6 separate regions of the Homo sapiens genome follow, and all the other regions are linked to region 3. Evidence: promoter capture Hi-C in 16 types of primary human blood cells and fetal thymus (Javierre and others, 2016). All regions are on one chromosome and are shown on one strand. The core of a region is centred on a gene start or on the middle of the fragment in contact, and the rest is flanking DNA. Distances in the headings are between cores, read along the strand shown.

Evidence for each region. The method cuts DNA at HindIII sites, captures the fragments that hold promoters and counts their contacts. A CHiCAGO score of 5 or more calls a contact.
Region 1: a fragment that was not itself captured here is called in contact with the fragment with the promoter of COXFA4 in region 3 in 1 of 17 cell types (non-activated CD4 T cells); the score reaches 5.3 in non-activated CD4 T cells.
Region 2: a fragment that was not itself captured here is called in contact with the fragment with the promoter of COXFA4 in region 3 in 1 of 17 cell types (total B cells); the score reaches 5.2 in total B cells.
Region 4: a fragment that was not itself captured here is called in contact with the fragment with the promoter of COXFA4 in region 3 in 1 of 17 cell types (activated CD4 T cells); the score reaches 7.0 in activated CD4 T cells.
Region 5: the fragment with the promoter of CRPPA here is called in contact with the fragment with the promoter of COXFA4 in region 3 in 1 of 17 cell types (non-activated CD4 T cells); the score reaches 7.1 in non-activated CD4 T cells.
Region 6: a contact is called between a fragment that was not itself captured here and the fragment with the promoter of COXFA4 in region 3, in 1 of 17 cell types (non-activated CD4 T cells). The highest score is 5.3, in non-activated CD4 T cells.

What each region holds. Positions count from the first base shown.
Region 1 is chr7:16,652,288-16,656,587 of GRCh38, reverse strand. All of the region lies in intron 1 of BZW2 (basic leucine zipper and W2 domains 2), which reads right to left. Among named protein-coding and RNA genes, the nearest start is that of BZW2, 8.3 kb to the right of the region's middle. The HindIII fragment of the contact is 1,202 bases long and covers 2,315-3,516 here.
Region 2 is chr7:17,302,947-17,307,362 of GRCh38, reverse strand. The region is part of intron 1 of AHR (aryl hydrocarbon receptor); the gene reads right to left. Among named protein-coding and RNA genes, the nearest start is that of AHR, 6.5 kb to the right of the region's middle. The HindIII fragment of the contact is 2,598 bases long and covers 1,433-4,030 here.
Region 3 is chr7:10,938,678-10,942,657 of GRCh38, reverse strand. COXFA4 (cytochrome c oxidase associated subunit FA4) reads left to right here and starts at 2,505. Exons shown (of 4, transcript NM_002489.4): 1 at 2,505-2,642; 2 at 3,762-3,850. The coding sequence starts at 2,601. LOC107986767 (a long non-coding RNA gene) reads right to left here and starts at 2,402. Exons shown (of 3, transcript XR_001745091.3): 1 at 1,927-2,402. RefSeq lists a silencer at 1,973-2,222 and enhancers at 1,448-2,368, 2,253-2,522. The HindIII fragment of the contact is 7,174 bases long and covers 726-3,980 here.
Region 4 is chr7:17,946,103-17,949,999 of GRCh38, reverse strand. No RefSeq gene overlaps it. Among named protein-coding and RNA genes, the nearest start is that of SNX13, 7.6 kb to the right of the region's middle. The HindIII fragment of the contact is 1,656 bases long and covers 1,567-3,222 here.
Region 5 is chr7:16,420,288-16,424,247 of GRCh38, reverse strand. CRPPA (CDP-L-ribitol pyrophosphorylase A) reads left to right here and starts at 2,710. Exons shown (of 10, transcript NM_001101426.4): 1 at 2,710-3,182. The coding sequence starts at 2,926. It overlaps LOC105375168 (a long non-coding RNA gene), which reads right to left and starts at 3,562. Exons shown (of 5, transcript XR_007060223.1): 1 at 3,266-3,562; 2 at 1,211-1,268. RefSeq lists silencers at 2,900-3,039, 3,060-3,119. The HindIII fragment of the contact is 1,514 bases long and covers 1,795-3,308 here.
Region 6 is chr7:16,634,017-16,638,250 of GRCh38, reverse strand. It overlaps ANKMY2 (ankyrin repeat and MYND domain containing 2), which reads left to right. Exons shown (of 10, transcript NM_020319.3): 2 at 1,796-1,860. Among named protein-coding and RNA genes, the nearest start is that of ANKMY2, 9.6 kb to the left of the region's middle. The HindIII fragment of the contact is 390 bases long and covers 2,789-3,178 here.

The DNA of each region.
Region 1 (4,300 bases), core at 1,666-4,165, 5.7 Mb before region 3:
TGTGTGTGTGTGTGTGTGTGTGTGTGTGTGTGCGCGCGCGCGCTGGGGAGTGCTTGATGATCAACAGGATACTTACATAGCCTCCAAGCATCTTCACATAAATTTTTTTAAAAATATAACTACATATTGGAAAAACAAGACCATACCTTAACCAAAGGACAACATACAATCACTACAACTCCAGATGTTTTACACTTAGAAGGACATATTGCTCATGTGGTACCCCAGACAAAAACACATGACCTGAATAGCTAATCATGAGGAAACAGATGTATATCTAGGGACATTCTCCAAAGTAACTGGTCTGTATTCTTCATCAATGATAACGTCTTTCCAAAACAAAGGTTGAAGAACTGTTCCAGGAGAATTAAAGGTGCATTGCTAAATGCAATACACATTCCTGGACTGAATGCTGTACTGGGAAAAAATATTTATGTATATATATATATAGTCATTTATATATATACACACATATATATGTATATATACATACACACACACACACATATATATGACTATTGAGACAACCTAAGAAGTTGGAGTATAAAGATAAAATTATGGTATCTATGTTAAAATTTACTGAATTTTTTTTTGCACTGTGGTTCTGTAAGAAAAGTATCTTATTTTTACAGAATAAATACTGAAGAAATAAGAGATAAAGGCAGAAAGTGTATGCAACCTACTCTCAAATGATTAAGAAATAAAACTGATTATGTACACATAGAACCCTGGAGCAATGGCAAACACAGGAAGCCATATGTATTTTAGGGCATGGCATGGTGGCTCCGATCTGTAATCCCAGCACTTTGGGAGGCAAATATCATATGATCTCACTCATGTAGAATCTAAAAAAGTTGGTATCACAGAAGTAGAGAGTAGAATAGTAGTTTCCTGGAGACAGGAGAATAGGAGTGAGGTGGGGATGGGGAAAGATTGGTGAACAGGTACAGAGTTACAGTTAGGAAGAATAAGCTCTAGTGTTCTATTGCACAATAGAGTTATTATAGTTAACAATAATGTATCATATACTACAAAAGAGCTAGAAGAAAGGATTTTGATTGTTCTTACCAGAAAGAAATGATGAGTGTTCAATGTAATGAATATGCTAATCACCCTGATTTAATTATTACACAATGTATATGTATATGGAAACACCACACTGTACCCCACATATGAAAAATTACTATATGTCAGTTAAAAACAAAAATGTTACATAGTAACTTAAGTAATTTAAAAAAACATTTTCCAGCATTTACCCATCAAAGTAATTTCTTCCTTCAATAAAGAAAAACTATGAACTAATAATGCTTCCATTAAACAAAACCCCTTTTAATTAATAGATTTATGAAACTTTTTTTAGAATTTCCTCTGGAGTCTACAGATCATTCTTTTGACTATACTCAATGATGAGAAATTTCCTTGTTTGATAGAGGATTTAATTTTAGAAAGTCGCCAGAGATCATTCAGAGTCTAATCCATTGAAAAAAGTAGGTGGCCACTTTGAAGCTATCTGGTGTGTCCAACCAGGTTTTTATGACAAAATACTGAACAGAAGCAAAAAAGTAGGTGATTAAGCTGAGAAACAACAGCATCTTTATTTGAAAGTGAGAGGTAACCTTTAAAAATCACTGATTATAAGGTCAGCTCATCATGTATATTATAGAATATTTAAGGAAAAATTAGAAAAAATCTATCAGTCTAACTTTCAGTAATGACCACTGTTCACACTTAAACACAGTATAGTATACAGGCTGGGCACGGTGGCTTATGCCTGTAATCCCAGCACTTTGGGAGGCTGAGGCAGGCGGATCACCTGAGGTCAGGAGTTTGAGACAAGCCTGGGCAACATGGTGAAACCGTGTATCCACTAAAAAAAAAAAAAACAATTAGCCAGGCATGGTGTTGCACGCCTGTAACCCCAGCTACTTGGGAGGCTGAGGCATGAGAATCACTTGAACCCTGGAGGCAGAGGTTGCAGTGAGCCAAGATCATGCCACTGTATCACAGCCTGGCTGACAGAGCAAGACTCCGTCTCATAAATAAATAAATATCATCCGTTTTTTTTTGGGGGGGGGGGGTTATATACAGAAAAAAATTAAAATTAAATTCTACCATCTTTTCTCATATTATGCTAAAATACAATTTAAAAATGATTTGCATTTGGACTTGGAGTTATATAACTTGATTCAGTGATATTCTCTGAATCTTTATTTTAAAAGTCATCTGTTCCATTGCATCACTTTAGGAAAAGCAGAAACTCTTATAGAGAAGGAAATGTCCTTGAAATTTGTTAATAATATTATAATTTTAAGCTTAGAAAAAAGCAAGATGGTCTCTATATTATTATTATTACTTTTTGAGACAGAGTCTTACTCTGTCACCCAGGCTGGAGTGTAGTGGCACAATCTCAGCTCACTGCAAACTCTGCCTCCCTTGGATTCTCGTGCCTCAGTCTCCCAAGTAATTAATTTTTGTATTTTTTTTTTTTTTTTTTTTTTTTTTTTGTAGAGATGGGGTTTTGCCATGTTGGCCAGGCTGGTCTCGAACTCCTGGCCTCAAGTGATCTGCCCACCTTGGCCACCCAAAGCGATGGGATTACAGGCATGAGTCACCATGCCCAGCCAGTCTCTATATTATTTTAACTAGTGATTTAAAACTTTAAAGTAATAACACACTGATGGCAAAAACAAAACAAAATCAAACAAACAAAAAACCCCAACACAGTACAGAAGGGTAGTGCTCTTCCCAATCTTTCACTCTTGACCTTATATCCTAGCCCCACTCCATGGAGATGATAATAATTTAAACCCTTTAACATCATCCTATGTAACCTTTTAGAAAATGCCTATGCATTCGAGATTTTCACCTCCACTGAAGACAAAAGTAATATTTATTATTAATGAGTATTCTCATCTCCAATGTTCCTTCCTCCAGAAAAGTGCTTTTTCACTGGAAGATACCTAAATACATGTTGAGCTTTACATAGTAGAGGAGAAAGATGATTTTATATGAGATTTACTTTCCACCTAGAGGAAAGGAGCTATGGACAGCACACACAACACTGGCCTTGCTAACTGAGGTGAGGAGAACCAGGAGATGAAAATCAGCAAGAAGTGGAGTGGCAATGCCAGAGAGCAAGTTAGTTTAAGACAGACACAAAACTGATGGGAGTGTTGGTGACTATTACTCCAGTGGGAAGTCAGAAGACAAGTTATTAAAGTAAAAGAGTGTTGAAGTGTTTGCCTCTCTTCAGAGGATTTTTAATCATGGAAAAGAGGAAAATAAAATCTTCAGAAAAAAAAGAAATAAAAAGAAAAGTAAGGCCTAGACTGGTAGACAGTGAGAGAATTCTGTTTTGGAGCAATTGCTTAAAAATCGTAATAGTGGACCTTCAGGAAGCTCAAAGGTGGTGGTGGGCATGAGTCCAAATATTGGCTCACTTACTAGTTCTCTCAACCAAGAAACTCCCATCCTCCCAGAAGGGGACCTGCCCAAGCCTGTCTAGCAGGTGAAGCTTTATTTGAAGGGCTACACACACACACACACACACACAAAGTTACTTTCCATATGCATGCTTATTACATAATGAGAGCATGAACTGGATAGAAATGCCAAGCCTAGTCTAGGGCACGCTGATGACATGGGACTGGATTCCCCAACACAACTTTACAGAAGTGGACCATACAAAATTGAATTAAAGGAAATAAAAAAGAACTAGTACAGAGCTACAAGCTCTCTGAATCATACATTTTAAAAAGGTTTAAGCCAGGTATGGTGGCTCATGCCTGTAATCCCAGCACTTTGGGAAGCCAAGGCGGGCGAATCACCTGAGGTCAGGTGTTCGAAACCAGCCTGGCCAACATGGTGAAACCCCGTCTGTACTAAAAATACAAAAATTAGCCAGGCATGGTGGCAGGCGCCTGTAATCCCAGCTACTCGGTAGGCTGAGGCAGGAGAATCACTTGAACCCAGGAGACAGAGGTTACAGTCAGCCAGTCAGCCGAGATCACACCATCGCACTCCAGACTGGGCAACAACAGCGAAACTCCGTCTCAAAAGAAAAAGGTTTAAACCTACAGAGAATCATTCATTTATTTGTTTGCCAAATATACCAGGTCTGGTACTAGTCAATAGGGATGCAGCAAGCACTAAATCAGGCAAATTTCATGGAGGTCACTTTCTAGCAGGTGGAGCTTTGTTCCAAGTATTGCACAATCGGGCAGAACAAGTTAGCAAGCACTGATTGTCTCCAGTATGTTTAAAGACAACATATGATGCATTCGAGATGCAGTTGTGTTTA
Region 2 (4,416 bases), core at 1,482-3,981, 6.4 Mb before region 3:
CTAATATAATGATTCCATTAAGGAATATTCCATACAAACAACTTCACAGAAATAGAAAGTGTGTACACAATCCAGTCCTGCACTCTTGGTGGCTTTCCAGTAATGATTATGAAACACTGGAGAGAAGAGAGTGACACAAACGCTGAAACAAGGCAACATGCTATGACACAGGGAGAACTAATAGTAACATAAAGGTATCCCTCCATGTGGTACTGCTGCCTGTCTTGTGCTGGCTCTTTGCAATATTCAGCCTCACACTAGATTCTGAGGCTTGCTTTTCATAATGCAAAATTGTCTACATTTCTAATGCATTACTATGTGTCTTACAAAATATTTAACATGAGAGCAAATTTCCATTGTCAAGTAACATAATTGCTTATACTTGTTTGCCTAACACCCTTATTTCTATGTAAGCTTAAATCATTTTTGTATCCTTAATGCCCAGCATAATAGAGTGGATTCTCAATTAATGTTTGCTGACCAAAAGTGCCAAGAAAAGGAATGATCACAACCTGACCAAAGGCAGTGACAGTGAGGTTAAGAAAGGACTGGCTTGAAGAGAGATTTAAGCCAGACTCAAATGTTCACTGAACTAAACTAACTCACTATAGGAAGTAAGGAAGAGGAAACCATTGAGTGAGGAGAGGTTGCAAATGGTTCTGCGATTTGTAGCTCAGAAGAACAACTACATTTCCTAATGAGAGCTGTACCAGAAAAGGAAAAAAGTGGCTTGAGGATAGACCTCAGTAATACCAACATTTAGGTATAGGGCTATGGAAGAGGCATAGACACAGAGAAGAAATGATAGACGGAAAAAAACCAGGGTAGAATATTTTGGAGGTCATAGAAGAAAGTCAAATACACAGAGGAAGAAAGTCAAATACACAGAGGAATTAAGGTCAGGGCTAAGAAGTACCCTCAGAACTTAACAATTCAGATGTACTGGATTTGAAGCTTTTAAAATGTCAGATTGTTAAAGCTAACAAAGGTAATGCATTTGACCCACTTTTTCACTGATTTTGTGAGAAATGTACAGATTTTGTTAAAATATTTAATATCTATCCATACATCTTGAAGATATACAGAACAATTAAAAATAGAGTAATCTTACATTAACTGCACTTGACTTGGATTACGCTAATATTTTTACTTTTGTATTGTCTTCGAATCTTTAAGAAAGGACACTGCTAACCATTATTTAAGGAAAAGCCTGTTTGAAATATAAATAAACATCCCTGTAAGATTGGATTTGGGAGCTCTGGAGTTCAAACATCTCCTGAAATAGACCGTATGATGTTGGTCAGGCAAAGGAGTAACTTATTATTTTTTGAAACCTTTACCTCAAAAATCTTGTCCCAATCTGTAAAATTGTTATGAAATCAAGACTCCAGCTGACTGCATGCCATGCTTCTGTTTAGAAGCCCTGCAAGCTTTAACTGCTGGTGGTAACAGGCCCAACAGTATGCCCAATGCCAGTCTGAATGCTATCTTGAAAGCCTTTTTAACATCTCCATCAAAAAAGTCTATGAGGTTCATCATTTGTAGCCAGTGTTTGAAGCAAAGCTGAAAAAATTAACCAAGTTTACTCATAAATATAACTGTTTTATATAATATTCATTATAAAACCTCAAAATGACATGCAAAGATATGGTTTCAGTAATCCTATGAGATCAAAGTGACGTTTTTTAACAAGAGATTGCCTCTCACAGTACTGAGTTTGCTCTATCGGATTTTTCCTCGGGGTGATTTAATCTACTCTTACTGCGTTGGTCTACTTACCCATAACTTGTTTATCTTTATTTCCAGTCCCTGTACCTGACCCTGTGCCCTTCCATTCAACATTCCCCTGGAGTTGGGCACCCGCTTCTCAGCACTATGGTGCTACTCTCCATCTAACAGCTAGGAAATCTGAAGTATTCCTCAATAAAATCCCCCTACCATACTACCTACACCCAATAAAGCCCAACTCTTAACCCCATTCATTCTTCATTTCCTTCCCCCAGCTTCAGTGCATCCGTATTTATCTCTGAATATAAATTTCAAATATTTACAATCATAAACTATGTGCTTAATGTAATGGAGGTGACACATAGCACAAATAGACCCCAACTTCATTGTCAGGCTGAACACAGCTGGATATTTTATTTCCCTATATGAGTCAAAAACATCTACAAAAACTTCTGAGAATTCTGGCTGGAAGCCACTTTTAATGAGTCAGAAGTCTTCTGCCACCCTCCTGCTGCTGCCCTATAATTGTGATGAGTTCTTTCCTTTCCCTTTTGTTTGCTATACCTGAGGAGAGATGATGAGATATAAACAGCATAGTTTCTAGCACAAGACATTAGCAGGGAAGATCAGGAAAATGAAATATGGCCTAGAAACCACTACTAGTTCCATAATCCTGGAAAACTCATTGTTTCCCCTCCCCCTTCTTCTACGCAAACACACATTTTTATTCCCCCTCGAACCCGCATAAAATGTATCTGCCTTACCAGAATCACTAAAACATTACCAAAAAAATTTTAAGTGGTAGTTAATTGTTAAATTAGTACATCTCAAATATGTACTAAGTGCATGGTACTGTACTGGGAAGCTCTGGTAGTTTCAAAGACAAATAATAGTCCTATCTTTAAAGACATTCTTTTTCCTACTAGGAGGAAATATATTTTATAACATGGCAAAATCAAGCATAATATATTGCTCAGTAACACAGGTGCTGCAAAAGAGTTCATGGAGATGTGGCATCTAAATCGGGTCTTAAATACAGGCAAGACACTTCTGTTTCTGTGACGGCAGAATATCTAGCTTTCTGCAACTACCCTTCTCTTCCAGAAAACCACACCAAAACAAGAAAAGCAGGAGCCAGAAACACAAACTCTGTCTCCGATGAACCTAAGTGACAGCTAAACCCAGATGCTAATAAACAGGAAGATGGTAGAAAAGAAATCAATAATAGCATAGAACAGGAAGGCAAATATAATCACAGTATATTACTTAGCTAAACAGTAAACAATATACAGTCAAAAATAATACAACACTAATGTGTATATAATCCAAAATTGTGATAAAATATATTGGGAGGATGCAGGAAGGTGAAAAAGGTTAAAGTGAGACAAGACAGCACTAAAATCCCTAACTACCACAGTAAGACATCAAAAGATAAGGCCTCACATGCTATACTTAAGATGTGCCACATATATAATTGACTTTTAAAATCTGCCAGTATTATTTAATAGGAATACATTTTAAAACAATATTTCAATAGAAAGAAGTAAAAAGAACAAACTAAAAGATGACTGAAAAATGTAAGACAAAACAAATGAATACGTAAAGGACACCCTAAGTAGAAAATCTGCAAATACAAGTGCTTCTCCTATACATAACCATGATCCCAACATATAACTTTAATTACCAACCACACTTTTGCCTATGAAATTGACAATAATATTTTTTAAGCAAAAATGCAAAGATATAGTCACATCCCCAGATTGATGATGGAATGTAATTAGTAAATTTTTCTTAATTTGATACTATCTCTTGGAGTGTACGATTTGGTTCAACCTTAAAACAACACATACTTTTCTATCCCAAAATTCCCTTACAGGAATTTTTTCCTAAAAAAATAAATTTGCATTAAAATTTACACGTCCCAAGGGTATTCTCTGAAATATTAAAGTATTAAATGGTTGGGAATAAAATTTCCTCCCAAAAGAAAAACAGTTAAAAAAATTATAGAATATTAGTACAACAGAGTATTATGCAGCCTTTAAAAACAATGTTTTAAAGAGGAAGGGAGGTGGGTAGCAAATCAATAAGACAGGAGAAAAGACTCTAAGAGGAAAGGACGTAAAAACACAAGTATGGGGATGAGCAAGTACAAATTATGTATGGGAAATGACAAATAATTTATTTCAGCCATAACACTATCTGAGAAGAAACAGTGAAAATCCCTAGGATATGGCTGTACTGTATGCATCACTGAATCTGTTCACCTGGACAGTACGAACACAAGTCAGTAAGAACACAAGCTTTGAAGCAAAAAGACCTGGGATCCAATATCCAAACTCTTTCTCATTATCTGAGCAACTCTGAATTTGAATCTCAGTTCCCTATCTATAAACTTAAATAATACTACCTTTCTTTAGTACTATTATAAAAATGAAGAAAATGATGTAAAGAACTGGGCAAGCTTGTATCAGAATAAGTGCTAATAAACAGTCATCTTTTGTCATATTAAGCCACTAGCAAAATATCAATTTTAAAAGAAGCATAAAAGTAGAAAGGTACTGTTGTAAAAGATTTGTATGGTATTTATTTCTAAGTAACTGTCTTAATTAAATACATGAGTAAGCACGTACTATGTAAATTTATTCACCAGTGAAGTAGCACATTTCAGCCGTAGCCGTAATTGAGAAC
Region 3 (3,980 bases), core at 1,256-3,755:
TTTAATAATGGCATTTCTACATACCTACTTATTATCAACTGTTATTATTCAAAATAAAATATTGGAAGAAGAGGTCTCCCTTCTTCTAATTTATTTGCTGAAAGCCTATCTACACTCACTAAGGTTTCTTTGTTCACTTCTAAGTATTTTCCATGTTTTTGTGCTGATCTTTTAACACAGCCATGCTCCTTACCATAGCCTATAAGGTCCATGTCAGAGAATTGGACATAGACTTTACAGACTCCACTGTTTGCTCTCATTTTCCTCTTTTTCTCCTTAGTTATGGATCAACCACACTGATACTTTTTTAAGCACTCTTCTTCTTCTTCTTCTTTTTTTAAATCTCAAAGCCATTTCTCTTACTAATTTAGTGTTCTTCCCACATCTTTACCAGGTTACTTCCTTCCTTTCATTTAGGTTTCAACTCAGAAATCCTCAGACGGACCTTCCCTGTCCTGTCTACTTAAAGTAACCTCCTCTCCTCCACCTCTTCCATGTCATTGTCTGTCTCATTATTCTATTTTATTGGCTTGTCACTGTCTAAAAATTATCTCATTTGTTTATTGTTTGTCTTCCTCAATTAGTATGTAAGCTCCATTAGCAACGCAGAGTAATTTTCTTGTTCACTGCTATAACTCTAGTGGCTAGAACAGTGCCTAGTGGAGAGTAGGTACTTAAGAAAGATTTGCTGAATGAATGAAAAAAGACACCAGTCTTGATAAGCTTCATGACATATCACCTTAACAGTTACCATCTATTTTTTTTTTCCTACCTACTGGCCATACCTCCTCTTCTAAGCATTGCATGTTGGAATTCCTCGGCTCTGTGTCCTCTGTCTAAATTCTCAGTCAACTTTCTCTCCCTAAGTAATCTCATTCAGTCACATGGGTTCATTTCTTATCAGTAAACTGAGTCCTAAATTTATACTTATAGTGTAGTTCTCTTCTGCCCCATAGAGATCCACTTGAATTTTACATAGGCACTTATACATCATTCTCTACGGCTTATTTCAATAACTGGCATCAACAACCACAGAGCTGCTCAAAACTGAACCTCTGAAATTATTCTTAACTTCTCTCTCCTCACTCCTGGAGAGCCAACCACCAAGTCCTGTTGGTGCCACCTTCTAAACATCTCTGGAATCTTTTTTTCTCATCATTACATTCTCTACACTAGTTCAAGCTACCATTATCTGTCACACAGATTATGGACTATTGCAATGGCCCCTTGATAGGTCTTTCCCCTCTCACGCTTATCCCTTCTAATCAATTATTCACAAAGCAATCATTTAAAAACACAACCTTCCCAAGCTCTCAACATAAAACCCATGATGTTTAAGCGGTTATTGGCCCAGCAGATCTGATCCCCACCTTGCTCTCCCTTTTACTTTCCAGCCACACTAGACCTCATACAGCTCCCTCGGGTTTTCAATAGCTTCAGACCTTCACGTGTTATTACCTCCGCCCTGTACACCTGCATCCTCCGTTTTCACCTGGTTAATGTCCGCTCCTCCTTCAGAGCTAGTGTAACTTCCGGTGGAGCCTTCTCCTATGATTTCTAGTCCCAATTATTAATACTTGCTTGATCATTTGATTAATGCTTTAAGCTACGTATGAGATTGGAGAGGGTTCAGAGTGTACATTTTATCCCAATCCCCCCACCCTCCCCCGCAAAGCCTGTCCTATGGAAGTCCTTCGGGTAAAAAAAACAACGAAGAAAACAAAACAAAAGACAAATGAAAATTCGACTGGGGTAGTGGGAAAGATTATCTGTAGCTACACGACCATTGAAAACACATTTTAAAGATGCAATTTGGGACCAGGGACGGGGGATAGTGGCGTGTTGGAAAGGTCTTTGTGGCGACGAACTTTCAACCGAGGGCCAGGATCTGAGGGTTCAGAAATACACTGCCAGGACTATTATCACCTTTAAGTCATTTACTAGTTTTTAACTTCTGCTTGTCTGCGACAGCGTAACACAGGAAGCAGCTGCAGTCTTCTCAAACCGCAGCCGCTGACCTTAGCGGCAAGAGGCCCGACCTGCCCTCCAGGCGCCCGGCGCTCGGCTCCCAGAGGCGCCGCGCAGCTCCCTCAGCGGCAGTCACAGCTGGCCAGCGCGCACCCGGCACGCGCGCCCCCAGGGCCTCTGCGCGCGGACCCGGCTCTCAGGCGCCGCGGGAGAGGCCCCCTACTCACGGAGCGCGCGGCCCGTGCGCCCACGCTCCGACCGCATTCCTCAGTACGTGGCACCCTTGGAAAGTGCCTGTCTGGTCAATCGAAGAGTCCTCGTTTCGACCAAAAAAATTCCCCTCAGAAATATGCATGGCACGGCAATGAAGGCATTTCACTATGAAGTGGAATGATGATGGTCCGACCAGGTCAGGACGAACATATGAGGGGTTAGATCTAAGCAGGCACTATTAAAGACAGTCGCATCCGGGCCCTCCTGCCGCAAGCTGCCCTCCCAGCCAAGGGTCCTTCAGGTAGGAGGTCCTGGGTGACTTTGGAAGTCCGTAGTGTCTCATTGCAGATAATTTTTAGCTTAGGGCCTGGTGGCTAGGTCGGTTCTCTCCTTTCCAGTCGGAGACCTCTGCCGCAAACATGCTCCGCCAGATCATCGGTCAGGCCAAGAAGCATCCGAGCGTAAGTTCGTGACCGCTCTCCTAATGTTTTCCCTTGTCCTTCTTGCGTCGGGGTGCGCCTCTTTCTGTTCCCTGGGAACGTCCTCATTTACAGCCACTTACCGTCCGTCAGACCAGACCCTGCCTCGCCTAGTGTTTGTCATCTTAGTTGTCCCAGGCCTCTGTGACCCTCTACGCCATGCATTGTGGGGTTTTGTCTGACAGGAGGAAGGAGACGGACACTGCTCGGAAAAAAAACCTAGTTTTTTCTAGTTAGTGAATATTGGAACAGTCTGGTGGCCGCTCTCTTTTGCAGGTTGTGCGGTCCAGGAGGGATAGATGTGCGCTGTGTGGGTCAGAGACTAGCATAGGTCAGGTTCCCTATGTGTTATACCATCTCTGGAGGTTCTTGTATTCGCCGCATTGCACCACCAGGCCTTTTGGTAAATAAGAGGGGTCCGTGATCTTGGAATCCTCACTTTGTCTGGACGTCGTTGCTTTTGGGAAAATTTCGAAGTGTGGAAATTGCAGTTAAGTTCTTTGGCATCTCATTTTTCCTCAGCACATCAATGTGCTGTAGAGCTAAAAGTCTATGCAATCTTTAATCTGTCTTAAATCCGGTTCCCTAAATACGCAGCAAGCATTGGTAGCATTACGTTTTCAGAGATAATGCTTAAAGCCAGTATTTGTAATAGATACGTTTACTTATTCAGATTCTATTTTTCATACATCTTTATAGAGGCACCCTTAAATAATTTGCAAAGAATTTGTTTTTCAAGCCCCAGGATAAAGGAAGCCAGAAAATTTAATGGGAATGACATGTAAATATTAGAGAGGTGAAGAAGACTCGATACATTTTCTTGGAAATTTAAAAATGTACCTATAATTTGCTCCACATTAAAAAGTAAGACACTTAAACCAGAGTCATCTTAACATCCTTTCCAAATTCCATTTCTTTCTTTAGAACACAGTTATAAGAAATCTTACCTCAATGTAAGATCTACTTTATTTAAATTTTAAGACAAAACAGTCCAATAACAGTTTGAGACTTGGAAATCAATGTGCAGAAACTACTGTAATCTCTCGTTGGCCAGTGTTTTAAGTATTTGAAGATGGTTATTCTATTTTGTGTTTGGTTTAGTTGATCCCCCTCTTTGTATTTATTGGAACTGGAGCTACTGGAGCAACACTGTATCTCTTGCGTCTGGCATTGTTCAATCCAGATGTTTGGTAAGTACTTAAAAATGTTTAAAACTTTGATAGCTGATCAAGGCAGTTTAGGAGCCACAGTCTCTGTAGGGCGATAACATTAGGGTAGTAGAAAGAATGTTACATTTACAGTCATACAATAAGTTCAGAT
Region 4 (3,897 bases), core at 1,145-3,644, 7.0 Mb before region 3:
TTCCCTTGTTCACCCAAGTGAACTGTCAGTGTGGGTGACTGTCAGAGGTGAGAAGCACCTGTCAAACATCCCCAGGGCAAAATCCACCCCAATCCAGGTGACTTGAGTTATTCTTTGATGCAGATTCCTAAGCAAAACACCTACGTGTACTCCCTTAGTTTCCAATTTGACCACATCCTTGGATTATATTAGCTATCGGAACTCTCTGGAGAGGTTCTCAGGATTTTCAGAGTAACTGTTCACTGTTTCCGGTCCATAACTGTCTTATTCATCCTTATTGCTATTCATTGCTTCCTTGGTTTTCTTTTCTGTGTAACCTGGTTGCAGTAGGGTTTTTTTTGTTTTTTTTGTTTTTAGATGGAGTTTTGCTCTTGTTGTCCAGGTTGGAATGAAATGGTGCGACCTCAGCTCACTGTAACCTCCGCCTCTTGGGTTCAAGCAATTCTCCTGCCTCAGCCTCACGAGTAGCTGGGATTACAGGTGTGTGCCACCACGCCCAGCTAATTTTGTATTTTTTTTTTAGTAGAGATAGGGTTTCACCATGTTGGTCAGGCTGGTCTTGAACTCCTGACCTCAAGTGATCCACCCACCTCGGCCTCCCAAAGTGCTGGGATTACCACTTTGGGAGCCACCACACCCGGCCACAGCAGGGTTTTGAGGTCACCCTTTTCACCCAGAAATCTTAATCTGCGTGTGTGTGTGTGTTCTAATCTATAACACCTAGGACATGATTTATTAAGGCCATAGTCCTTAGAGAATTGTAAATCAATTGGAGATCTACTTAAGTAATATCACTTAATTAAAACAGTCCCCTCATTCTGAAGGGTGGGGGGAAAAAGAGGGCAAACATTCCTTAGGTTAGAAACTTTCTATTCTCAGTAAGTAGAGTTAGAGGGCATTTAATTCAGGGCATATATTGCCAGCTGCTGTAACAGCCACCCATAATAATAAAAGAATTTGTCACTCATGCAAAGTCCAAAGGTATTTTTTTCCTGATCTAGTAGATGGGTTCTCCTGTGCGGTTCCTTCCAGTTTGAGTTTCTATTATCTCAATCTGTAGCATCCAAGGTCACCTTGGAAGATGGAGAGATGGGAGGATTGCTACACTCCTTTGATGTAAGCTAGTTAGACCACCCTGCCCAAATAGGTAGAGCATGTAAGCTCTTTCAACATCAATGAGGAAAATGAAATAATTAGGTGAACACATAGCATCGTCATGCTACAGATTGATTTAGAGAGATATTATGAAATATTGCCTCCTCCCCATAAACCAATGACTCACAGATTAACAACCTTCCCCTAAAGACAAACATGAAATTTAGAAACTCAATTATATTTTCACAGTGTAGAATTTCAGCATTACCAAATTTTCTGGCATATCCATAAAGTTCAATGAATTACTCAGAAGAACAGACATAACTTCAAACAAAGTAAAAGCTCTTGTTTAAGAAATCAACAATCTTTTACAGAGTACTACAACAGAATTAAAATCATAATAATATAGAACTTAACTTTAGGGCAATAAAATTACATTAAAAAGTAATTCTGTAATTCCTATTTTAAGCTTGGGATAGCCAGAATAACTACTGTTTTTCCATGCAGTTTTAAGCACAGTATATACCAAAGTAATAATTTGTAATATTTTGTCTGTGATATTTCTCTCATCAGTTTCCTGTGGTAAATAGAGCAAAGAGTAATATATAAAGATTAAGAAACAATGGCTTGTATTTTAATTATATGATCAGAAGATTTAAAGAAAAAGCCAGATCTCATCTATTTTTCTTCCCTTTTTTGAGGCTAAATTACATTAGGCAAACATGTAAAGGGTTTAAGTATCTTCTGTGTACCTTCTAACCACTAGATGTTGAGCGATAATTGATGTTCCTGATATGAATTCCATAACCTTATGCTCTCTAAATTTGAATAGTTAGCCCATTTAAGATTTAATGAATAAAATAATATGTAAACAAATGAGCATATTCTATGATTGTATAGACAGATTATCTGGTAAATAGCCAATGGGGTACCTCTACCCAGAAGGCAGACATGTCACTTAAAGAAACACAGTTAAAAAACATGAATTCCTTCATTCATCCTTCTGCCACTCCTACCAATAAAAACAAACACATCCCATTCAAAGCAGAACATTTAGCTCTCTGTTAGCAACAGCAAGAACACTTCCCCAGCAACAGGAAAACTCGAAAAGGACATCTATTTTTAAAAATAAAATGTGAAGCCCTCAGCATTTTGCTGATTTAGTGAACAAGACAGAATACAAATCTTATCCATCGAGATTAGGTGAACATCCCATAGATTTCAAGAACAAATAGCCTGATTTTACATGTCTTTTATTTGATAATTTGATTTGTCTTTATACACCAGGACTTTTCTTGACATTTTTGCTGATTTTTCTGTTCATGGATATTTGCACATATGGCCATTATAAGGTAGGAGGTGTCTCATTTTAAATAGAAAGGTGGTAATTCAAGGAGTTCATTATCATACACAAAATAGTTCACAGCAGTTTGTGCCACTGCTTGGTAGCAAGGTTTTTGTAAAAAGGTGATGATGCATATGTTTGTTGAAGGAAAGTGATAAGAAAATGAACTGCAACTTACTTTCATTAAGTATAACAGTTTTAACACGAAAAGAAACCTTATGAAGCATTTGATCTTGAGCCACAAGGCATTGTCCAATGATTACAATAATAACCCACCGTATTAATGTAGACAGTATATTAGTGTTACTCTAATTATATGTTTTAATTTCATTACTTTACAGAAAAGGAAACTGAAGCTCAACAAATGGTGATCTTTCATTTCCAAGGTTTAATCTCATTAAACAGCAAAGGCAAGGCCACAGTGCAAATCTTTCCACGCTTGTATTCTTTTTATTCCACAGCCAATATTATGGGGCATGTGTGTAACATCTCTTCCATTTAATTGTATATACATTTATTATAAATAGTTTTCAATTTAAAATTTTCATTCAAAACAAAAAGATCACCATATATGCAAGGGTGAAGACATGCCAAATTAACTGTGCAAATTATCATATTATCATTTAAAAACAACAGCAATTCTTAGAATAATCTCATTATTTTACCTCAGTTGTTAAAATAGTAAAACAGGAAGCAATATAATGACAGCCTTTGATTTCACCCTTCTTCTGTAAAAATGAAACCAGCTGAGGTAAGCCTTAAATATAGGCACGTATTAAGCTTCATCTATGAGTACTGATTCCTTTTCTCATTTCCTTCTTTGGCTAAAGGCAAAAACAGGAGTTCAAGGACCCACCACAACATTTATGATTCACATTAAAAAATGAAGGACAAAGATGGTTGAAAATTTTTAGTTCTTAAAGTTAGCTTAATTAATATACTTGACACAGTACACACACAATTCTGTATCATACAACTTCACATGACATATATACGTACATATAGATAAGTTTATACATATACACAGTTATGTATAAATGTATATATATAATTTTTTCTTTAAATATTGGCTCTTCTACTAGCTATGTAAACTTCAGCAAAAAATTTTAACTCTCTGAGCCTCAGTTTACTCATTTGTAAAATGGAAATAACAGTTTCTATCTTATAGGATTATTGTGAAGCACTTAGAACAGCTACTAGCATATGGTAAGACTTTAACAAGTATTAGGTAATTAGGTATTATAGAGAAATCGATTACATATTATATATCAATATAAATATCTCTATGATTCAAGTGAAGTTTATTCAATACAATGATCAGTTGTTTGGGTCTACAGATAAATATGTAAAGGCAATTTTGTTATGTACTTCTCTTTTCCTTTATGTTTTAGGGCTATGAAACTATTCTGTATGATACTATAAAGTGGAGACCTGACATAATGCATTTGTCAGAACTT
Region 5 (3,960 bases), core at 1,461-3,960, 5.5 Mb before region 3:
TCCATCTTGAGATCCTTCACTTAATCACATCTGCAATGTCTCTTTAGCAGTGTAAGGTAACATATTCATAGCTTCTGGAGATAAGAGCATGGGCATCTTTGGGGAGTCATTATTTTGCCTACTTGGAAGCTCAAAATGGAAACCACTCCAGGAACTTCCAACTCTGCATGCTCTGCCTCATGATTCAGTTGGGGTTTATTTTTTCTAAACTCTTCAAGTGATATCTTAGAATTGTTATTACCAATGGGTCCCAGAGGAGTTCACTTTTCAGGGTATGTACTTTCACATGCCTGATGCAGAGAAGATATTCTCATATTGTGGCTGCTATAACTTGGTATTAAGTAACAAGGAAGCTACATCTGTTACCCCAAAGTATGCAAAACATGGAACTAATTATATTTATATAAAAAGGACAGAGAGAAAAATGTTGCTTCATACTACGTATATGAATGAATACTTTAATGTGCCCTTTTTTCTCTACAAGTTGGTCTGCTAGACATTGTTAATATACAGTATATAAGATCTAAGGATCTAAGGATTCATGGAAGATCTAAATTGATATATCTGCTCTAAGAACAAAACTAAGATTCTAGTTAAAATTTGTCAATGTTTAATTATATAAAATTATTCTATAGCAATTAGTATAACAAGAGCTTTATTACTCTACTTTTCTTCACTCAAGATTAAGTAAAGGAAGAATACCTTTATAACAACTCCACCTTTAGATTAAAAAGGGAGGTTTAAAGATCAATATTAATAGAAATACTAATTCGATTTGCCTTCCTGCTCTCATAGATAGACTCATTTATTTATCCACCCAGTTAGTCAACAGATATTTAAATGCTTGATACAGGTGTGGTAGTGGCGCTATGAAGTCAAGTATTGTGCCAAACTTGTTTAATATAGTTGCTGCCTGGGCATCCATTTTTAGGCCTGATATAAGCTGTTTGAAACCCAGTTGTATCACGTCACCTGTGGCCTACTTAAAACTTCCCCTCCCTGTGATATAGAACACTTATTCCTCATTCCATGACCAAAAACCCAACAGCTGCTAACCATGATAAAACCCAATGGTCAACACCAGAGTCAAGTTCTCCCTTTGCTGGTGTTTTCTTTAAACTAGTCAATCCACAACCCCCTCTGGAAAGCCTAAGGGATAAAGCCTTTGGACCTTAACACAGCCCCACAGGTCCTCTCTCTTGCACCCCACCTGCTGGTTGGGAGTCCTGTTATCTCCAGACTTCCATCAGGCTTATTCTCTGGTGAATCTGTAAGTAATAAAATGCGCCTGTTATTTCACATGTTTTGTGTGCTGCCTCCTCTGGCGTCTCACCTGCACACCAGAACCTAGCTTTCCTCTCTGGGCCAGGGCTCTCCTGAAGAGTGGCTGTTCTGGCTTATGGCCACTCGTAAGAGAGAGACCTCGAGATCAAATTAGAAAGGAACGATAGCAATAAAAATTACAAGGAAGTATATTATGGCACCCACTTTTCAGTTAAGAAACCAACTAGCACAGGACCTAAATGCTAATTATAATAAAAGTAACAAAAGTGAAAGAATGCCTTCAATAAGACTAAACAAAAAGGAAAAGCAGAAAACATATTTTTATATGCTCTCAAGAAAACAGGTAAAAATAAAAATTGTAATACTACAACTAGATAACATTTCCAGTGTTTAAAAAGATTATTTTTTATTAATCATAAGCCACTGGATTAAGACTGAATTACTGATGATTATACACTTTAATGATCATTAATCTATTTAATCAGCAATTCATTCAATACATATTAAGCTTGTGTTACATTCCAGGAGCTGGGCACACACACACAACCCAAGCCAAAAGAAAAATGTTGCTGCTTGCATGGAGTTTACATTCCAGGGACCTAATACAATAGTGCTCTCCTCCAAATTCTCACTATACTTTCATGGTAAACCTCACCAGCAACAAGAGTACTAAATAAGGTAAGATATGCTTTAGGCCTGGAATTCTTCAACTTTGGCCTACTTCTGTATGAGGGCCTTAAGGCTCCTCTGCCATTAGTTGTGCAATCTTACATAAATTAACCATTTTAACGTCTTTTCCCCTTTGTAAAAAGGGAAATGGCAATAGTTGAGTTCTTCTGGGGACTAAATGACATAAGGTGTATCGATTGTTCAGCAATTAGTATTGCTTTGACCCTATGGTTCCAAAACATGCCTGCTCATCAGAATCACCCGAGGATCTTTAAAAACATTCCAAAGTCCGGTGCTCACCAGACCAATTAAATCCCAATCTCTGAGCGTGTCAGGACACGCTCCCCAGGTGGTTCCAAAGTGCAGACAAGTTTGAGAGCCACCACAGTTTGGATTATTGATGTGCCACAATAACACTTGCTAATCCATCTGTCTTTACCCCAGGTGGAACCAGGAAGCCTCCAGAGCTTAATGGAATTCAGATAATCGAGGTGCATACGCACCCTACGTCCCATCCTGTGACTTGAATCCCAATCTCTTCCGAAATTTTAAAGCAGGGAGGGATGGGACAGAGGCCTGACCTCTCCTGCATACTCATGGCCCTTGAGTATCTGCGATCTTTAGATATGTAGGGCGTTCTGACATTTCCACTTGCGGCGACAGCTGGGCCTGCCCGGGGGAAGCGCAGAGCGGGCAAGTCAGCCCTCCCGCAGGCGCTGGGACCGGGTGCGGAGGCCGCAGCCGAGCCGCGAGGGCAGATCGGCAGCCTCAGCTGCTGCCGTAGCTGTCGGGATCGTCCCCTGCGGGGCAGCAACAGCGGGGCTCCGACGGCTGAGGGGGGCGCCTTCTGCTTGCGCGCTCTGCGTCCCTCTCCGTGGTCTGCCCTTCGCCCCGCGACCCCGGCCGAGGGTGGGAGCAGCGCGGGGTCGCATCGGCCCGAGGCTAGCGGGGCTCGCCGTTCCGCCCGCAGCCATGGAGGCCGGGCCGCCGGGCAGCGCCAGGCCGGCGGAGCCGGGTCCTTGCCTGAGTGGTCAGCGCGGCGCGGACCACACGGCTTCCGCCTCCCTGCAGAGCGTGGCCGGGACCGAGCCCGGGCGCCACCCGCAAGCCGTGGCAGCTGTGTTGCCTGCCGGGGGGTGCGGGGAGAGGATGGGGGTCCCCACCCCGAAGCAATTCTGCCCCATCCTGGAGAGGCCGCTCATCAGCTACACCCTACAGGCCCTGGAGAGGTAATGCGGCGCCGGGCGCGCCCCGCGGTTCCCTGGGGCCCGGCCTCCCGCTCCCCGCCCTGCCGCTGCTCTAGCGCTAGCACCTTCACTTGGGGGACTGCCGGGCCGCGCTCAGTTATTCAAGCTTGAGCTCTGTTCCCTCCCGCATTTCAGAGATGGGAAGTTCTGGCCTTTAACAGATGGGCACGAAAGCTGCAGCTCCCCCACAGAGCCCTTTACGTCCCCAAGCAGATGAGGTTGTGGGGAAGGCCCGTCGTGTGGCGCCGATTAGAGAGTGCATGGGTTGGGACTAGGCGATTTGGGGTTCTAGCTGTGGGGCCTGAGGAGAAGCTGTGCGGATAGTCTCGCGGTCCTGGGGCTCTGCCTCCGCGCATGCGTGGATTGAGTTGTACGTGCACACTGAAGTTTCCAGGGCGTGTGTTCGTTTTTTTCATTCATTTACTGAGCACCTTCTGTGAGACAGGCTGCGCTAATTACTAGGTGCTGCAGGAGGGGAGAGGAGCAGAATTTAATAACCTTTCAATGGTGGAAAGGGCTTTAAGCCTGAATTTGAGGTCATACCCCCTTTATCTTAGAAAGGGCACTGAAGTTAACTAGTTGGGGAAATGAAGGAGACAGGGAATGGGATAAGGAGGACTAGGGGAACAGTCGTGAGGAGCTGAGGAAGTGAAATGAAGGGGTATGTTATAATATTAACTTACTTTGCTTTTAGCACTGAGTAATGAGGTGGAGCTTGGGGCGAGGGTGCAGGGGTGGGAAGCAGCGGCATTACAAATAT
Region 6 (4,234 bases), core at 1,734-4,233, 5.7 Mb before region 3:
GAGCCCTTGACCTGTAAGATCTGACTAACTTTAGATAAACAATGTTAGAAATGAGTTAAATTATAGGATACCCCATTGGTGTCCAATGGAGAATTGCTTGGTGTTTATGGGGGAAACCCCATATATCTGGTGTCAGAAGTGAAGGATTGAGACTATTGAGTGAGAGTTAAGCAGGAGAGAACAGTTTGTTTTCCATTATACATGCATCATCTTTAAAATATATTGTTCCCTTACAGAATATGTTAACTTAGATTGTTGGCTATTTGGCAAACACCTTAGAGAATTATCAGCCTGTTCTCTAATGAGAGCCAAATGTTTATGATCTTAATCCCCATTCTACTCTTCCCATGTAGCAGGTTTTGACATGCTTACAATCACTATAGTATTCTCCCTTTCTTGCAAAAACATCTCTTGGGCAGATAGAAAAAGAAAATAACTTTGGTTCTCAGTAGAGAATGGGATTTGGATGAAGCATCTTCCTCAAGAGAAACTGGGGTGCGGGGTTTTTGTTCTGGTTTTATTCTTCTATAAAGATTTTTGAGAAAGTCTCTGATGAGAAGACACAGATACGAATAAGGTTTCATGTAGAACTGGCTCGCATGCTCACACACACAAGAGCTTTGCCCTTGCATAGCGATTCAGCCAGTGATACTAACTGCTTTCAGATGGAATACAGGGTCAGAAAAATGCATTATTTATAAAAAAAATAGCTGCTATCATACTCCAGGGACGTGTAGATCATTCACTTGACATTTTCCCAACAGAGCTACTTCTCTATCTAGGAGATGTTTCTGTTTTTTCTCTGTTGGTGAGGGGAACTCAGGTGACTTGCTTAAGAAGTGGGTCAGAGAGAAAAAAGCATGCTAATCTTTATTTTGCATTTCACCTTTAACTCTAGAAGGCTAGCAGAGTTTAGCACAGTCTTGCACTACAAGTCTAAATTTAAAGAGAGGAAATAACCTGATTGGGAGACTTACCTATTCTTTTATGTTCTTTTATAGGAGAGGCTTATCTTAGCCTTTCTCCCTCAGCACATTCAATTTCATTCTTCTCTTCCCAGTAAAACCAGAAATTTCTTGGCAAAATGTGTGGCTGGCTTGTACTAATGATAATAGCAACATTCTCTCCTGCAAGTATGCTTCTGTCATTATGCCTTATAGAAGACTGGAAAAACCTGACAACTTTGGCCCAATTATAGCTTCTTTCCAAATTTACAGAGGAGTGACCTTAAGGTTTACATTAGTTGACTTTCAGGGTGGTGAGTACTGATCATAGAGCACTGTAATGTAGTACTAGGCATTGAAGATGTGTTTCACCTAAGTATTTCCAAACCAAGCACTCTATTATAAATATGTCATCAATTCACAAGATGTGGTGCTGACAAATTATATAAATACTGACTGCATTTTGAATTCCAAGTATTACATTGACTGGAATTTAAGCTTCAGATGGTGATTTGGATTAGATACCCTTTAAGATTTTTTTTCAGTATTAAGTCTTATGCTTTGTGGTTATTGTATTACCGCCAAAAGGAAAATGTGGCCAATGTAATATACTTTAAGGTCAGTGAAAATAAAAACAAGATGGAGCTATTTTTAGTTTCTGTAAATCTATTCTACTGGACAATTACTTTGTAAAATAAATAGTATGTGATTGGATGTTTCATTTCTTAGCAACCTACACTGACTAGATGTACTCTTACAGATAACTCCTTAAGGTTTATTTCCTTGATGTTAGATTTTTCTCTTATTCTAGTGACGAATAACCTTACTTTTCATCTTTTTTTTTTTTTTAGGTACTGTCCAAGAAGCTGGAACATTATTATCCAGCAAGAATGTTCGTGTCAACTGTTTGGACGAGGTAAGATTTTAGAAGTTTAATAAAGGATTTTACTTCCTATAAGAAGAGATAATATATCCTTTTTTTTTTTTTTTTTTTTTTTTTTTTTGAGATGGAGTGTTGCTCTTTCGCCCAGGCTGGAATGCAGTGGCACAATTTTGGCTCACTGCAACCTCCGCCTTCTTGTTTCAAGTGATTCTCCTGCCTCAGCCGCCCAAGTAGCTGGGATTACAGTCACCCACCACCACTCCTGAGTAATTTTTCTATTTTTAGTAGAGACAGGGTTTCACTATATTCACCTGGCTGAGCTCGAACCCTGACCTCATGATCCTCCTGCCTTGGCCTCCCAAAGTGCTGGGATTATAGGCATGAGCCACCACGCTCAGCCTTCAAATCTCTTAATACAAGTTTTTTTTCTAGCATTTTTGCTCATATTACACTAATAATTCCTAAACTAAATGTAAGCAAATAGGTCATAAAAGAAAAATAAGCATGTAAAAATAGTTTAGTCTTATTAGTAATCAAATAAGTGCAAATAAAGTCAAAATCATATTATTTCTTGTCAAGCATGGGGAAAAATGGACTTTTAAATGCTAATGGTTAAGTGTAAATTGATGTACTATTCTGTAGAAAATTTTGGAATATGTATCAATTTTAACTGAGTATATTATTTGATCCAGCAACTTCAGTTCTAGGGAAAGTTAAGTGAACCTAAACTCAATTTCCTAGAATAGTTGCTTCTAAAATAAGTTTTGGAAATGGTGGTAACATCTGAGCATTACAGTAGCCATTGGCCATGTGTGACCATTAAACACTTCAAATAAGGGAAGTTTGACTGAGGAAATGGATATTTAGATTCCTTCATTTCTTTCGGTTATTAGCAGCTTTATTGAGGTATAATTAATATATAATAAGCTATACATATTTAAGGTGTAAAATTTGTTAAGCTTGACATATGTATATACCTGTAAAACCATCACTATAATCAAGATAACGTAGATATCCATTACCTCAAAGATTTCCTCATACCCCTTTGTAATCTCTCCTTCCTGCCCTTCCCCACCCACTCCTGCAAAAAGCATTAATTTGCTTTTAGTCACAATATATTAGTTTGCATTTCCAAGAATTTCATATAAATGAGATCACACAATAAGTACTCTTTTTTTAATCTAGCATCTTTTATTTAGCATAGAGATTCACCCATGCTGTAGCATATATTATTCCTTTTTCTTGCTGAGTAGTTTTTTTTGTTGTATGTGTATACCATAATCTTTTTATCCATTCATCAGCTGTTAGAGTTTTGGGTTGTTTCCAGTTTGGGGATGATTACCATAAAGCTTCTATGAACATTTATGTACAAATGTTGGTATGGACATCTGTTTTTATTTCTTTTGAATGATTTATCTTCTCTTTATGGGTTGTATGTTTTTATTCTTTCCATGTTTGATTGTTTTTTATTGGGTGCTAGACATTGTCAATTTTACCTTACTGGGTGCTGTATGATTCTGTATTTTGATAAATACTCCTGAGCTTTTTTTCATGAACACAGTTAAGTTACTTGGAAGCAGTTTGATTATTTCAGTTCTAGTTTTTAATGTTTGTTAGGTGGAACTAGCAAAATGCTCAGTAAAGGATTTTTTTCCTGGTGTTGAACTAAGGCACTTCCTTGTCCTCTATGCAATGTTCTCAGATGCTTGAGGTTTTCAAGCCTGGCTGGTGGGAACAGGCACTCTTCCTGGCCCTGTGTGAGCACTGGATGCTATTCCTTGTAATGCTGTCAGCTAGTTATTTGCCCAGGCTTGGGTAGTTTCCACATACGCGTGTGTTGATCAGTACTCCAGCCAAACACTCTGAAGAAACCCTCTGCAGATCTTTAGAATTCCCTTTCTGTGCAGCTCTCTTCTCTCTTTTACTCTTCCTGGGAACTTAAGCCAACTTGGTGACCCTGGATGCTCAACTCCATCGCCTCAATGCAGTCTGCCAGGCTCAGTCTGGCTGACCTCTCCATATACTGTAACCTATAAACCCTCTTAAGGTTATAAGCTAGGCAATTGCAGGAGCCAATTCAGTTGCTTTCCCTTTCTCAGGGATCATGTGTTTTATTGCCTAACCGACAGTGTCTTGCAAATTGTTATTTTGTCTGTTTTTCTGTTACTCTAGGAAGAAGATAACTCTGGTTTCTGTTACTATATCTTGGCTAGAAGTACCGGTTTCTAATTTTGTTTAATTTTAATTAATTAGAAGTTAAATTTAAATAGCCATATGTGGCTAGTGGCTACTATATTATATAGCACAGTCTAGTGCTAAAAAGTTCATTGAACTTCAATTTCTCATGCAGAAGGGAAAGGGGTTCTGTTAACTCTTTACCCACACATGGGTAGCAAAATTAATATCA